Linked DNA regions of Homo sapiens: region 1 is linked to region 2. Evidence: promoter capture Hi-C in 16 types of primary human blood cells and fetal thymus (Javierre and others, 2016). All regions are on one chromosome and are shown on one strand. Each heading gives the region's core, a stretch centred on a gene start or on the middle of the fragment in contact. The rest is flanking DNA. Distances are from core to core; before and after follow the strand shown. Region 1 overlaps DBR1 (debranching RNA lariats 1). Region 2 holds the start of RYK (receptor like tyrosine kinase).

Region 1 (4,765 bases), core at 453-2,952, 3.9 Mb before region 2:
TTCTTTTTCGGCTTAAAACAACAATAATTTGTTATTTTATTAATATTGGGAGCATAAGGAACTAGTCTCTAGTCAACAGTTAGAAAGTAACTGAAGTGTGCCAGCAACCATGTGTGGGACCTTAGAAAGCAGATACACCCTTATTTGAGCCTGCAAAGGAAGGAGACTGCAGTCCACCATCTTTTTAAAAAATTTCCCTAGATAACTTTTTAAAATCGTATATATTGAAGGTGTACATGATATTTTGGAGACCTGTGTATATGTCTTTGTATTTGCAGTATTTAAGGAAATTAAATATAGCTTATTTTTCTGCTTCAATCTAAGGTCATTTTGAGTGCCCCCCTTATAATTCATCTACAATCAGGAGTATATATCATGTGAGAAATATTGAAGTCTATAAATTAAAACAGGTACGTAAAAAGCGCATTACAGCAGACTTGAAAACATTTTAAAGTAATTCTGTGCCAAAATGTATTTTGGTCATATTGGTATACTACTTTCAAGAAGAGCAATTCTGTATTTTTAAAATGTGGATCTTGAGTTTTTAGGAGGTTCACAGATGAACCTTTTTTTTTTCTTTTTTTGAGACAGAGTCTCACTATGTCACCCAGGCTGAAGTGCAGTGGCGCGATCTCGGCTCACTGCAACCTCCGCCTCCTGGGTTCAAGCAAGTCTTGTGCCTCAACCTTCTGAGTAGCTGGAACTATGGGCGCACACCACCACACCTGCCTAATTTTTTGTATTTGTAGTAGGGATGGGGTTTCACCATGTTTGCCAGGCTGGTCTCAAATTCCTGACCTCAGGTGATCCGCCTGCCTTGGCCTCCCAAAGTGCTGGGATTATAGGTGTGAGCCACTGTGCCCGGCAAAATTTTTTTTACTTCAATAATTACGAGTTTATTTTAGTAAGAATGAAAGATTTAATTCATGATTTCAAATATTACTTAGGTTAAGGCTAAAGAATACCTATTAAAGTGATATTTAAAATAAAATGTTAAAGTGATATTTTAAAGAAAATATTGAAATAAACATTTTATTTTATGTAATAGTAATTAAGTAATGGTATTAAATAGAAAATAAGTAATAGTAAAGATGATAGAGGAAATGGGAAAATTGTGAAGGTGGTATGGAAACACTGCTTAATTGCAGAGTAGGTGAAACTAGGTTGTTTGAGAACCCATTACATGGCTGACACTGGGCTAAACAGACTTCACACTTGGTATTTCATATAATCTCCACTCAAACCCTATGAAATAGATGTAACTCTTAACTTCATCCCTTTAAGGATGAGAAGCCAAGGCTCAGACAGGTAAGTAACCTGCCCAGGACTTCCCAAAGTTTAGTGGTAGAGCCTGCCTGACTGCACTCATGCCCATCACACTGTCTCTAGAGCCTCTGCAGGAGTCTAACAATTCTTGCAAGTGTTTCTTTTATGCCCTGTGCATACAGTTCCCTTAAATAGATTTTCTCTTTCACCTATCTAAATCCTACCAGTCCTTTAAGACCCAACTTAGATGCCATTTCCCAACCATGAGTTTTCTTCTTTTTTTTTTTTGAGACAAGGTCTCACTCTGTCACCCAGGCTGGAGTGCAGTAGTATGATCATGGCTTGACTCACTGCAGCCTCAATCTGCCAGGCTTGGGTGATCCTCCCACTTCAGCCTCCCGAATAGCTTGGACTATAGGCATGCATCACCTCGCCCAGCTAATTTTTTTCATATTTTTTAGAGACAGAGTTTCGCCATGTTGCCCAGGCTGGTCTCAAACTCTTGAACTCAAGCGATCCTTCTGCCTTGGCCTCCGAAAGTGCTGGGATTACAGGCATGAGCCACCATGCCCAGCCAGCCATGACTTCTCTAGTTTAGAGTCATTACCCTAGTTTGAATTTTTGTTGCATCTGTTGGCCATACCAGTTATTCAGTGGTTAGTCATATCTATCTAATATCTAATATTTTGTATTGTCTTGAGCAGTTATTTAAGTTTTTTTTTTTTTTTTTGAGACAAAGTTTCACTTCTGTTGCCCAAGCTGGAGTGCAACAGTGCGATCTTGGCTCACTGCAACCTCTGCCTCCTGGGTTCAAGCGATTCTCCTGCCTCAGCCTCCTGAGTAGCTGGGATTACAGGCGCCCACCACCACGCCCGGCTAATTTTTTGTATTTTAAATAAAGATGGGGTTTCACCATGTTGGCCAGGCTGGTCTCGAACTCCTGACCTTCAGGCGATCCACCCACCTCGGCCTCCTAAAGTGCTGGGATTACAGGCGTGAGCCACTGTGCCCAGCCGGTATTTAAGTTGTTTTAATTTCATTTTTCAAGTATTCGTTTCAGATTACTTGAAGGTTCTGGGGATAAGTAAAGTCTGGAGTATATTTTGTTTCCTTAAGTTGTTTAATGAAATACTAATTTATGTAGTAAACACAGTTTTTTAGTGTATACTATGTGAGCCTATTAGAATTTTTTTTTTCCTGGTAAATCTTTGGGTTTACTGAATCAGTCATGTTAGAGGTCTCGTGAAATCTAGTGTCTCTGGATCTTCAAAACAGTAATTTCTTTTTTCTTTTTTTTCTTTTTGAGATGGAGTTTCACTCTTGTGGCCCAGGCTGGAGTGCAATTGCATGATCTCGGCTTATTGCAACCTCCACCTCCTGGGTTCAAGCGATTCTCCTGCCTCAGTCTCCCTAGTAGCTGGGATTACAGACAGATGCCACAACGTCCAGCTAAATTTTTGTATTTTTAGTAGAGATGGGGTTTCACCATGTTGGTGAGGCTCGTTTCGAACTCCTAACCTCAGGTGATCCACCTGCCTCAGCCTCCCAAAGTGCTGGGATTATAGGCGTGAGCCACCGCGCCCGGCCCAAAATAATAATTTCTTTACCAAAGAGGAAAAGAACTATGGTTATCGTGTATTTTAGAAGCTAAGTGCTAAAGATCTTAGATGACTGGCAGTCTAATCAGAGTCTGTCTCCATTGCCTTGCCTTGCCACTGAAAATAAGAATGATTTATGAGCAGAGAAAATGCAGCTTCTCTTTGCCTAGATGAATGAGTTGCCTAGTATTTTTATCACTCTCTTAAAGTGTCCTTAGAATGAATTATACAGAATTCTAGAGATCTCAGTGGGTGAATGGTTGTATGGTGGTAGAGAGAAGGGAGGGGATTGTTTTGGTTAATCTGTTTTAAGAGTTTTCTTTCTTTCTCTTTTTCTCTTTTGAAAGCTGAAGCAGCCTATAGATATATTCTTGTCTCATGATTGGCCAAGAAGTATATATCATTATGGAAATAAGAAGCAACTTCTTAAGACTAAATCTTTTTTCCGACAAGAAGTGGAAAATAACACATTAGGAAGTCCAGCTGCCTCAGAGCTTTTAGAGCATCTCAAACCTACTTATTGGTTTTCTGCCCACCTTCATGTGAAGTTTGCCGCCTTGATGCAGCATCAGGTAGAAAACAAAATGTTTATTCTTTCATTTAACACACACTATTGAACATCTATGGACCAGACACAGTTGTAAAGTTAGAGAAAGAAGTAAAAGATAACTTACCTCTTGTGAGTAGCTCAATATATGATTCTGGGAAAGACAAGCAATTACAAAACAGTATAATAAGTTTGAGAGAAAACGTAGGCAGTGGGAGCACCTAAGCCAGACTGTGGTGGGATGGGAACATGGGAGATGAAGATAGAGAAGGTTTTCAAAAGGTGATAGCTGAACTGAGTCTTGAAGTGCCAGGAAGAAACACATTGTAAGGGTATTTTATTTAGAGGGACTGGCATGTGCAGAGGCTCGAGGTCTGAGAGCATGGGGTGTTTGGGGACTTGTAGGTAGTTCCTGTGGGACTAAGGCATAGGGACTGATGAAGCTTGAACAAGATCATAACTGCCTTCTAGGGGCCATGCTCTGGAGTTATGATTTTAACCAAAGATGATGGGGAAATTTGGGGAGTGATGAAATCAGATTTTCATTTCAGAACGATTAGTTTGACAGCATTGTTGTGTATGGATTGGAGTAATGTAAAATGGGAGGCAGAGCAGGCTATTTATGTAAAAGAAAAGGTTTTAACCTAAGGCAAAGAGAGAATACAGAGAATGAAGCAGATTCTAGAGAGATTTTAGAAGGAGAATCATTGCGATTTGGTGACTGAGGGAGGAAAGAAGTCCAGGATGACCCCCAGTTTTCTTTGCTTAACTGCATGGATGATGTACTTGATGGAAGGTAGAAAATAAATATATACTTATAATGAAACTTCTATGGAAGTATGCATTTCTTCCTTTCACCTCTGATTCTGGCTGAACTCTGACTTTCCCATAAAGTAGTCCATAGGAAAACTGTGTAGAAAATGCTGGGTTAACAGAGTTACAGATTTCTTCTTGGAGACATGTAGAGAATTTCTGAGAGTCTTTATTGCACTAATGGGCATTGCCTTTCTCAAGAGTAGAATGTGACGCTTCCCAGACTTACTTAACCAAACACTTCTGTGTTAGAGGTATACTTTAAAAATGTTCCTCAAACACGGTTTGGAAGGTTTTGTCTGAAAATATACCTATACGCCCTTTCTGTTGTGGATTTATTCTTCTCACTTCCCAGTTTCACTGGGAGAAGGAGAGGTTACTCTTTTCATTGTATCTCTGCATTAATAATATGTTTGACCTCTTTGTAATTGTCTCCTCAACTTCCTCTGACTGCCACTTTCTATTTTATCCCCTTTACCAACACCAGAGATCACTTTTCCTTGGACTGCTTTGCTGCCAATATCTGCCTATAATCTCCATG
Region 2 (4,582 bases), core at 1,393-3,892:
TAGGTGAGTTGGGGAACCACTGGTGGTCTGAAAGCCAGAGAGTACATGATCAGGCTGACGTTTAACAGAATGCCTCTGTCTGCTGTGTTGGGAACAGACTGAGCGAGTAAGGGAGAAAGCAGGCAACTGCAGCTGACCAAAAGAGAGACAGGAGAGCTGAGATATTAATGGAGTGACCAGCAGCATCAGAATTACCAGGAGGCTTGGGAAAACAGATTGTTGGGCCCCAGCCCTGGAGCTGCTACCTGTTAGTATGGGCAGTGTCCAAGGAATTTACATTACAAGTTCCCAGGTGATGATACTGCTGGTCTGGGGGCCACACTTTGAGAACTTGTCTTTGTAGAATTTATGAAAACATTTGTTTATCAAAGTTCTCAAGGAAGCACATTGCTCGCTCCTGTGTCCCCAGTGCCTAGCGTGATGCCTGGCACGAGTCTTCATCGAGCTCAGGCTCTGGGCCAGGCTCAGTGCTATTGAATGAGGTTCATGAGGGTCCCAGGTTTGAACTGTTTGGAGGTAACTGGTGATGAAACTTTCACAGGAAGTGGTCATTAAAGGGAAAGGATTCCTTGTAATTACAATAACAACAGGTGTGACACCTACCCAGCGTCTGCCTAGATGTTTTACTTGTATCCCTCTCCAATTAAATCCTGTAAAAGCCCTGGGAGTCGGGCATTATCCCGGGATTTTTATGAATGAGAGAACCAAGGCTTGGAGAGTTTAATTTTCCCAAGACCACAGGATTAACAAGTACCAGAACCCAGCCAGGCCTGAGTGGGAGCTCTCTGCTGTTTACATCATAGGCCGCCTGAAGAAGTCACTGACAAGACCTAGTAATTAAAGAACCTCGAGAAGCTAGGAGTTTCATTCTTTGAGGACTGTGAGCTTTTTTAAAAGTGCAAAGAATATGCCATCCTTTAAAAAAATGCTTCCCATCTGAATTGAGATTCCTGTTCACACAACATGTTTTGAGCCTCCAGCCCTTCCTGGCAGAACCCTGGTAGCAGTGGCTGTCCCAACAGAAGTATTTTTGCTGACTTTTGTGGCTTAAAAGCCTTCTCTGATGGAGCACTTTTCCTCCCCTCTTCCTCTTCTCAGCCTCCTCCGGCAGGATGAAGGGTGTAAGATTTTGTGCTGAGGCGCTGAAGCTTGACAAATTGAGGCCAGCCTATCTCTAAATGGAATCCGTGTATCTTGCTAGGGAGGGAGAAAATCAAGTTCCAGCACTTCCCTCCTTATCAGCCTCTCCTTTTCCCTACCCTTCCCTGAGGATAAAAATAACCGCTTCCCAGGGCCTCACTGCGATGGAGCAACTGTGCCCCGAAGCCAGGCCTAGCTGTCAGAGCAGCTGCTCCCCGAGGCACGGCCCCGCGAGAGCCTTGGGGTCAGGACGGGGGCCTGTCCGCAGGGACGAGGTGTCCCAGGACAGGGCAGGGGCCCTTGGAGCCTCACCAAGAGAGGGGGCACTGGTGCAAGTTTGACCGCGATGGTGGGCGGCTCACAAAAATACATCAGGAGGCCCGGAAGTCCATGCACTGGCTGGCTCCACCGCCTTTAAGTACACGAGGTCTATCTGCAGTTCTTAACCTCTTTGAGGGCACAAGGACTCCCTAGAACAAATGATGACATACCACCTCTCTGTGTGCAATCAAGCATACACACAACACACAGAAACATGGACGTGGACACAAATACGCACGGAGACACATACACTTTTGCACACAGTTTCATATTATTGGAAGGCTGTCGAAGCCTGGTATGGACCACAGATTAACAACCCCAAAGGCAGGTTGATTATAGTGATGCAGAACGATTATAAAAAAAATAACAATTTGGCAGGGCGCGGTGGCTTACACCTGTAATCCCAGCACTTTGGGAGGCCGAGGTCAGTTGATCACGTGAGGTCAGGAGTTCGAGACCAACCCGGCCAACATGGTGAAACCCCGTCTCTACTAAAAATACAAAAAAATTAGTCGGGCATGGTTGCGGGCGCCTGTAATCCCAGCTACTCGGGAGGCTGAGGCAGGAGAATGGCTTGAACCTAGGAGGCAGAGGTTGCAGTGAGCCGAGATCGTGCCAGTGCACTCCAGCTTGGGTGACGGAGCAAGACTTCGTCTCAAAATAAATAAATAAAAATATAAAAATAAATAAAATTTTGTAACGTAAAAATAGGGTTAGTAAAGCGTGCTAAGATCTTTCTGGAAAACAAATATATGTAGTATAAATTCTAATAATAGATACGGAAACGATAAAGTTGATCACCGATGGTAAGATAAAGGATGATTTCTATTTATTTGAGTTTTCCCACTAAACAGGAAAGCATGCTGCTTTTTCGCAACCAGAACGGCCGCATCCAGGCGTTTCCGGGGACCTGGGGCGCCCACTGAGCTGCAGGCGCGGCCGGTGGCTCCAGCCTGGCCCGTCCGTCGGGAAAGGAGGGTTACAGACAATAGACAAGCAAACATTAGACGCAGTGACCGCGTGGGGCGGGGACCGGCTCTTGCGGAGAGGGTGACCCGAGCCCTTCGCCCGCCGAGGCACTTTAAAACCCCAGCGCGTTGCCCAGGCCGGCCCGCCCAGAGCGAAAGGTGCGTGCGCGCTCCCGGGGAGGCGGCGGCGCGCACGGGCGCGTCCCGCGGGCAGCCCCCAACTCCGGACGATGCAGCGAGGAGGCGGCGGCGGCGGCGCGCTCCGGAGGTCTGAAGCCACTGCTGGCTGCCACGGGCCGGCGGTGCGATGAGCTGGGCAGCCGCCCCCGGCTCGGGGCTGTGAGCGGCTCGGGGCCGGGGGTGGGCGGCGGTGCGGCGGGCGGCCGACGCTCCTCTTCGGCGGCGGCGGCGGCGGCCATGCGTGGGGCGGCGCGGCTGGGGCGGCCGGGCCGGAGTTGCCTCCCGGGGGCCCGCGGCCTGAGGGCCCCGCCGCCGCCGCCGCTGCTGCTTCTGCTTGCGCTGTTGCCGCTGCTGCCCGCGCCTGGCGCTGCCGCCGCCCCCGCCCCGCGGCCCCCGGAGCTGCAGTCGGCTTCCGCGGGGCCCAGCGTGAGTCTCTACCTGAGCGAGGACGAGGTGCGCCGGCTGATCGGTGAGTGGGGCCGCCGAGGCCGGGGCGGGCAGGTCGGGCCGGCTGGGGCAGCTTCCGGCCGCCGGCGGATCAGTCTGCGAGCCGTGGACCTCGGGCGAGTACCCTCCCCGCCCCCCGCGCCCGGATTCGCCTCGCGGCCCGGTCTCTGCCTGCCGTGCTGGCTGGGAGGTGTGGTCCCTGCCCGGTCCCCAGCTCTGGGTCAGCCTTCGTGCCGCCCTCGCTGCCCCGCCGCGATAGACCCAGATTCACCCCATCCCATCCTCCTCACTGCCTCCTTAGCCCTTCTCCCTAGAAGAGTCAGTCACCCTTACAACTTTTTTTCCTTGCTGCACGAAGTTTTTTTGACGCTTTCTATGTGTGTCACTCTAGGGCCCTCGATTTTGAATATCTCGAAATTCACGTTTTAGACTGAACTTGCAAACCCTTTGCTGTGGTTTTGATGCTCCAGTAGAGGCCACGCTCTGTGCTTACCCTTTTACAAAAAAAAAAAAAAAAAAAAAAAAAACGAGAGAGAAAGAAGGGGAGGTTATAAGGGCACCAAATGTTCGTGGCAGCCTCCAACTCTTGGGACGTAGATTTGGAGCATATGCTTAGATTCTAAGCATATTTTTAGTGAATGAATCGCCAGGTAGCAGACCTTTTTAGTTTCAATACCTTTTTGGTTTTTGCATTGGGTGTGTTGGGAGTTTGGACTGACTCTGTACTTCTGGGCCACTCTCCTACTTTTGAGTATCTTGAAGGGAAACAAGAACTTAGTCTTGGGTCGGTTTGTGGTTCCATTTACTTGCTTAGCTTTGTTGTTTGGGGAATTAATTTGAAAAATTGCTGGGGTCTTATGTTAGGACTTTGTGGATTCTGGAAATGACCCCTTAGAGGAAGATCTGACAGGAACGACCCCCCAAAAAGGAAGTCCTTGGTACCTAGACGTTTGCATTCTTTTGTTATTATGGCAGTATCTTTATTTCATCTGAAGGTGGTGCTTCTGAGTGTTTGAGGGGAAAAATTATTCTCTATTGCATCCATTATTTGTCAGTATTCTATTTTTTTTTAAGTAATAAGACTTTGTTGAGGTGTGTTGAGATTGACTCAGTGTAGAAATGGAATTACTGAAAGCAGACTCTTTAGACATTACATGTACGGATTTGCAGTTTTTAGCCAAAGAAGAATGCTCTTTTTATGAAGTCGTGCTCATTCTTAATCCTTCTTAGTCTAGCTGAGTTAGCTGAATGTAGTTTAGCTGAATTAAAACTCTACTTGGGGTAGTACTTGGAACACAAGACTAAGATTTAGGAAAAATAATACAAGACGACTCATATCACATTAATTTTAGAAATATTAACGTATTATGCATGGTTTTGTAAAGGCTTTTTGGTTAAAAGCACTTATATAGCTTGTGACTTTGTTTACATGGGTAAACAAAGTCAGAGGTGTAGGTAGGAGACAGAAGACAACCAGGGACTGACATTGAATTCCTGCCATATACCTGCCCCTACATGCTTTATAC

The links. The method cuts DNA at HindIII sites, captures the fragments that hold promoters and counts their contacts. A CHiCAGO score of 5 or more calls a contact.
Region 1: a contact is called between a fragment that was not itself captured here and the fragment with the promoter of RYK in region 2, in 1 of 17 cell types (total CD4 T cells). The highest score is 6.7, in total CD4 T cells.

The regions. Positions count from the first base shown.
Region 1 is chr3:138,165,752-138,170,516 of GRCh38, reverse strand. It overlaps DBR1 (debranching RNA lariats 1), which reads left to right. Exons shown (of 8, transcript NM_016216.4): 4 at 325-410; 5 at 3,212-3,436. Among named protein-coding and RNA genes, the nearest start is that of DBR1, 6.8 kb to the left of the region's middle. The HindIII fragment of the contact is 4,308 bases long and covers 1-3,856 here.
Region 2 is chr3:134,248,919-134,253,500 of GRCh38, reverse strand. RYK (receptor like tyrosine kinase) reads left to right here and starts at 2,642. Exons shown (of 15, transcript NM_002958.4): 1 at 2,642-3,078. The coding sequence starts at 2,847. RefSeq lists a silencer at 2,468-3,287 and an enhancer at 2,623-3,401. The HindIII fragment of the contact is 6,752 bases long and covers 1,151-4,582 here.